Regions from separate parts of the Homo sapiens genome. Here region 1 is linked to region 2. The links are contacts of gene promoters, found by promoter capture Hi-C in human tissues and cell types (Jung and others, 2019). All regions are on one chromosome and are shown on one strand. Each heading gives the region's core, a stretch centred on a gene start or on the middle of the fragment in contact. The rest is flanking DNA. Distances are from core to core; before and after follow the strand shown. Region 1 has its middle 43 kb from the start of LINC02319. Region 2 holds the start of TRIM9 (tripartite motif containing 9).

The links. The method cuts DNA at HindIII sites, captures the fragments that hold promoters and counts their contacts. A contact is called where the count stands out against the background at its distance.
Region 1: a fragment that was not itself captured here is called in contact with the fragment with the promoter of TRIM9 in region 2 in 1 of the 25 tissues and cell types used here (heart left ventricle).

Annotation. Positions count from the first base shown.
Region 1 is chr14:52,166,699-52,169,721 of GRCh38, reverse strand. No RefSeq gene overlaps it. Among named protein-coding and RNA genes, the nearest start is that of LINC02319, 43 kb to the right of the region's middle. The HindIII fragment of the contact is 3,055 bases long and covers 1-2,881 here.
Region 2 is chr14:51,093,731-51,096,814 of GRCh38, reverse strand. It overlaps TRIM9 (tripartite motif containing 9), which reads left to right and starts at 1,710. Exons shown (of 13, transcript NM_001387360.1): 1 at 1,710-2,697. The coding sequence starts at 1,876. RefSeq lists a silencer at 1,649-1,718. The HindIII fragment of the contact is 24,626 bases long and covers 1-3,084 here.

The sequences.
Region 1 (3,023 bases), core at 105-2,604, 1.1 Mb before region 2:
CACAAAGTGAGCTAAACGGGTTTGCCAAGTAAGACTATTTACAAAAGCTTGCTGTATTTGTGCCTTTGTGAGAGTGACAATAACTTTTCCAGGATCATATTCATGTAATTTAACAATCTGAGTTCTCCTATGTTCTATCATAGTAGCAATTTGATCCAAACAAGGAGTTAGAGTCTGTGAATTAGTATGTGGAAGAAAAAGCTACTTTACTAAGTCCTGCTCTTGGACAGTAACACCAGAAGGTGAATGCTGAGTTGGAAAAATTAGCAAATCTAGAGTCTTCTCTGGATCTATTGTATTTATTTGAGCTTTACGGACTTGCTTTTTGATTAGCTGCAGCTCTACTTCAGCTTCTTTTATTAATTGTCGAGGGCTAGTGAGACTAGGATCTCCTTTAAGGATAGAAAATAGATTACTCATGGCAGAGGTAGGAATACCTAGAGCAGGTGGTATCCAATTAATGTCCCCTAGTAATTTTTGAAAGTCATTTAACACTTTCAACTGATCCCTATATATGGCTACTTTCTGTGGCACAATGGTAATGTCATTAACTAAGGTCCCCAATTAGGAGTAAGGATTAGTAGTATGAATTTTGTCAGGAGCTATAATTAAACCAGCATGAGAAATCAAATTTTGCATGTGATCATAACATTGGAGTAATATTTCTCAAGTGGGGGCAGCACAAAGTATATTGTCTATATAATGAATAATGTAACACATGAAAATTTTTTATGAGTAGGTTCAATTGCTTGCCCTACATAAGTCTGGCAAATTGTTGGACTGTTTAACATGCCTTGTGGCAACCTTTCCAATGAAAATGCTTAGCAGGCTGCAGGTTGTTTACTGCAGGAATTGTAAATGTAAACCGTTCAGTTTTGCTCAGCTAAGGGGATAGTAAAGAAACAGTCTTTTAAATCTATGACTATTAAAGGCCAATTTTTTAGAATCATAGCAGGAGATGCTATGGCTGTAATGCTCCCATAGGTGGTATAACTGAATTAATGGCTCTTAAATCAGTTAACATTCTCCATTTACCTGATTTTTTCTTAATTATGAAAACTAGAGAATTCCAAGGGGAAAATGTTGGAGCTATGTGTCCTTTTTCTAATTGTTCATTAACGAAGTCCTCTAAAGCCTCCAGTTTCTCTTTACTTAGTGGCCATTGTTCTATCCAAATTGGCTTATCTGTTAACCATTTTAAAGGTATAGGTTCTACAGGCTTAACAATGGCCACCATCAAAAATGATATTGTGTCCGGAATTGGTGGGTTCTTGGTCTCACTGACTTCAAGAATGAAGACGTGGACCCTCGTGGTGAGTGTTACAGTTCTTAAAGGTGGTGTGTCCGGAGTTTGTTCCTTCTTATGGGTTAATGGTCTCGCTGGCTTCAGGAGTGAAGCTGCAGACCTTCACAGTGAGTGTTGCAGCTCTTAAGGCAGCATGTCTGGAGTTGTTCATTCCTCCCATCCAGAGTTGTTCATTCCTCCCAGTGGGTTCATGGTCTTGCTGGCTGGCCTCAGGAGTGAAGCTGCAGACCTTCGTCGTGAGTGTTACAGCTCATAAAGGCAGTGCAGACCCAAAGAGTGGGCAGCAGCAAGATTTATTGCAAAGAGTGAAAGAACAAAGCTTCCACAGTGTGGAAGGGGACCCGAGCGGGTTGCCGCTGCTGGCTCGGGCAGCCTGCTTTTATTCCCTTATCTGACCCCACCCACATCCTGCTGATTGGCCCATTTTACAGAGAGCTGATTGGTCCATTTTAGAGAGAGCTGATTGGTCCATTTTACAGAGAGCTGATTGATCCATTTTGACAGGGTGGTGATTGGTGCATTTACAATCCCTGAGCTAGACACAGAGTGCTGATTGGTGTATTTACAATCCTCTAGCTAGATGTAAAAGTTCTCCAAGTCCCCACTAGATTAGCTAGACACAGAGCACTGATTGGTGCATTTACAAACCTTGAGCTAGACACAGGGTGCTGATTGGTGCCTTTACAAACCTTGAGCTAGATACAGAGTGCTGATTGGTGTGTTTACAAATCTTGAGCTAGATACAGAGTGCTGACTGGTGCATTTGCAGTCCTCCAGCTAGACATAAAAGTTCTCCAAGTCCCCACCCAATTAGTTAGATACAGAGTGTTGATTGGTGCATCCACGAACCCTGAGCTAGACACAGAGTGCTGACTGGGGCATTTACAATCCTCCAGCTAGACATAAAAGCTCTCCAAGTCCCCACCAGATTAGCTAGACACAGAGCACTGATTGGTGCATTCACAAACTTTTAGCTAGACACAGAGTGCTGATTGGTTGATTTACAATCCCTGAGCTAAACTCAGAGTGCTGATTGATGCATTTACAATCCTCTAGCTAGACATAAAAGTTCTCCAAGTCCCCACCAGATTAGCAAGACACAGCACTGATTGGTACGTTTACAAACCCCAAGCTAGACACGGAGTGCTGATTGGTGCATTTACAATCCTCCAGCTAGACATAAAAGTTCTCCAAGTCCCCACCCAACTCAGGAACCCAGCTGGCTTCTCCTAGTGGATCCCACCCCAGGGCTGCGGATGGAGCTGCCTGCCAATCCCGTGCTGCACGCCTGCACTCCTCAGCCCTTGGGCAGTCGATGGGACCGGGCACTGTGGAGCAGGGGGCGGTGCCCATCAGGGAGGCTTGGGACACTTGGGAGCCCACCACAGGGGGGCTCAGGCATGGCAGGCTGCAAGTCCTGAGCCCTGCCCTGTGGGGAGGTGGCTGAGGCCTGGCAAGAATTCGAACATGGCGCGGGTGGGCTGGCAGTGCTGAGGGACCTGGCACACCCTCTGCAGCTGCTAAGCCCAGGTGCTAAGCCCCTCACTGCCCAGGGCCGGCAGCGCTGGCTGGTTGCTCTGAGTGCAGGGCCCACTGAGCCCACGCCCACCTGGACCTCACGCTGGCCCAAAAGCGCCACGCACAGCCCCGGTTCCCACCCACGCCTCTCCCTCCACACCTCCCTGCAAGCAGAGGGAGCTGGCTCCAGCCTCAGCCA
Region 2 (3,084 bases), core at 461-2,960:
ATACCTGAAGAAATTTTATCTATGTCTGTAAACAGAGTGCATATACCTTTGGATGCTCTGGTCTCAACTAGTTGAAAGCCAGCTTAAAAATAAATCACGTCACATTTATGATTAACATGGCTTTAAATAACAATGGGGACTTTATTCCCCCACACAATGATCAACTACTGTTCTCACTGCAACTAAAGATGTTGAAAAGATAACCTAGTTTATTGGACAATTTCTACAAGGGCAGTGTAATAAAATGTCCATTTTTTTTCTGGACAATAAAGTACTTTTAAATTATCAACATAGCTGCATATAATCAAGTTATCTCCTGTCTGGAAGGTGGAAAATTGGAATATTTCTAGAACTTGCAAAGAGTTTTTGTCCTTTACTTCATGAATCATTCAGCAAAAGCCGGCTATGTACTATTTCAAATGTTACTACCTCAGAATGTCACTTGACTCAAAGATTTTCCTTTCCTTTTCTTCTTCCTCCCTCCCTTTCTTCCCTTCCTTCCGCCTTTCCTTTCCCCCCCCCTTCCTTCCTCCCTCTCTCCCTCTTTCCCTTCTTCCCTCCCTCCCTCCCTCCTTGTACAGGGACTAACACTAGAATCACCGCCTCACCATGCCCCTCGTTGGAAGAAACAGAAAGGCACACGATGCTGTAAGCTATGGCAGATGCCCAGGGCACGTGGGGTTGAATAATGCTGTTTGGAGTGAAACACTGAGACTCCGCAGTCACACAGTGATTCATTTACAGAGCTTTACTAAACTACGGGCACTCAGAAATAGACAAACTGTTCTTGCCTCAACCGAACCAAAGGCCCAGCGGGCCTCGAAAAAGCTCAGCCAGGTGCTTTGGGAGGCCGCGAGGAGGAAGAAGGATCCGTGGAAGGAAGCACGTTCACACCACGGCACTGAGGCCTCTGGGCCGAGCTATAATTTAAAGCATGAAACGAAGGGGTCATAGATTCTGACTAATGCTGACCATTTCCATCGGTTACCCAGTTGAATCTCATGTCGACACTAGGAAATCGACTTTATACATGCTCTTTAGGAAACGAGGGACGCAGGATGAAAGAAGCCAAGAGTGTCGCCAGGGCTTGCGCCAGCGCCGTCAGACTCCCGGGATGGGGGAGCTCCAGGGCACGGCGTCAGCGGATTCACGGAGAAGGAGAAAAGCCCCACTGCCGTGCAGAAGCCTAGGCCCGGGTGAGACGCCTGCGAAGGCTGCCAGCAGCGGAAGAGAAGGGGCGTCCTCCGTGCTGCGCAGCACTCGCCCGCGGTAGGTGGGCGCGGAGCTCAGAGCTGGGAGCCAAACGCAAACGCTGGCGAGAAGCCCCAGCCCCCTCCGGCAGCCCACTCGCTGCGGGGAGGGGTTTCTCACGCCCCCAGCTCCTGGGAGACTGCACCGGAGGTCGGAAGTAAGCCGGGCGAGGATGAATCATCCCGCCTAACTCCTCCTTCCCGGTCCCCTAGCCTCCGCACGCCGGCCCCCTTCAGAGATCTTGCAGCCGCGAGCGAAGACTGCCCTATCCTCAGACTCTACCGAACCCCCTGTGGCCTGCGGAGACGAGGAGACGGACGGGTCTGGTGGCCAATGAGAGCTTCGATCTCTTGCCCCCCGCCCAATGGGCCGCTGCTCATGGGCCGGGGCGGGACTAGGAGGGCAGGTAGGGGCGGTCCGGGCTGGCGCGCGGCGCGGCGGCTACGCGGCTGCGGCTCACAGAGCTAGCGCCTCTCTGGGTGTCCGTGCCAGTGCTGCGCGGGAAGGCACCACCACCACAGCCGCCGCCGCTGGCCAGGGTGCTGGACAAGACGGGCCCGTCGGCCACCTCGCCAGCTCAGGCACCCGCTGCAGCCGTCGCTGTCTCCTCCCAGACCGGTCCCCATGGAGGAGATGGAAGAGGAGTTGAAATGCCCCGTGTGCGGCTCCTTCTATCGGGAGCCCATCATCCTGCCCTGCTCTCACAATTTGTGTCAGGCGTGCGCCCGCAACATCCTGGTGCAGACCCCAGAGTCTGAATCCCCCCAGAGCCATCGGGCCGCGGGCTCCGGGGTCTCCGACTATGACTATCTGGACCTGGACAAGATGAGCCTATACAGCGAGGCGGACAGCGGCTATGGCTCCTACGGGGGGTTCGCCAGCGCCCCCACTACCCCGTGCCAGAAGTCCCCCAACGGCGTCCGCGTGTTTCCCCCGGCTATGCCGCCACCGGCCACCCACTTGTCACCGGCCCTGGCCCCGGTGCCCCGCAACTCCTGTATCACCTGCCCCCAGTGTCACCGCAGCCTCATCCTGGATGACCGGGGGCTCCGCGGCTTCCCCAAGAATCGCGTACTGGAAGGGGTAATTGACCGCTACCAGCAGAGCAAAGCCGCGGCCCTCAAGTGCCAGCTCTGCGAGAAGGCGCCCAAGGAAGCCACCGTCATGTGCGAACAGTGCGATGTCTTCTACTGCGATCCGTGCCGCCTGCGCTGCCACCCGCCCCGGGGGCCCCTAGCCAAGCACCGCCTGGTGCCCCCGGCCCAGGGTCGTGTGAGCCGGAGGCTGAGCCCACGCAAGGTCTCCACCTGCACAGACCACGAGCTGGAGAACCACAGCATGTACTGCGTGCAATGCAAGATGCCCGTGTGCTACCAGTGCTTGGAGGAGGGCAAACACTCCAGCCACGAAGTCAAGGCTCTGGGGGCCATGTGGAAACTACATAAGGTGAGTCCTAAGAAAACCCACTCCTAACTCCCTGCGTCTCCGATCATCCGGTTTTGCAGCAGACGGTCCCCGTCTCTTGCGCACAGCGCATCCCAGTGGGGGCGCAATGCAGGTGCCTTCGATGTTTACCTCCCTGGTCTGGTGCATTGCAGGAGGCATGGGGGAATCTTAACCGGCGCACGGGGGAGTTGAATGCCCCCACAGAGTTGTTGCGGGGATGCCTTAGAGCGGGTCTCTCGGGGCGCGCTGCCTGCGAGCGGGACTCAGGGCGCCCCCTTTCCGCGGCGGGTCTGCAGCCAGTGGCCGCGGCCAGTGTGTGGGAAAGCACTGCATAGCTGGGTAGAGCCGCGCCAGTGCCCAGGGCCGCTAGGCACGCTCGAGGGCAGG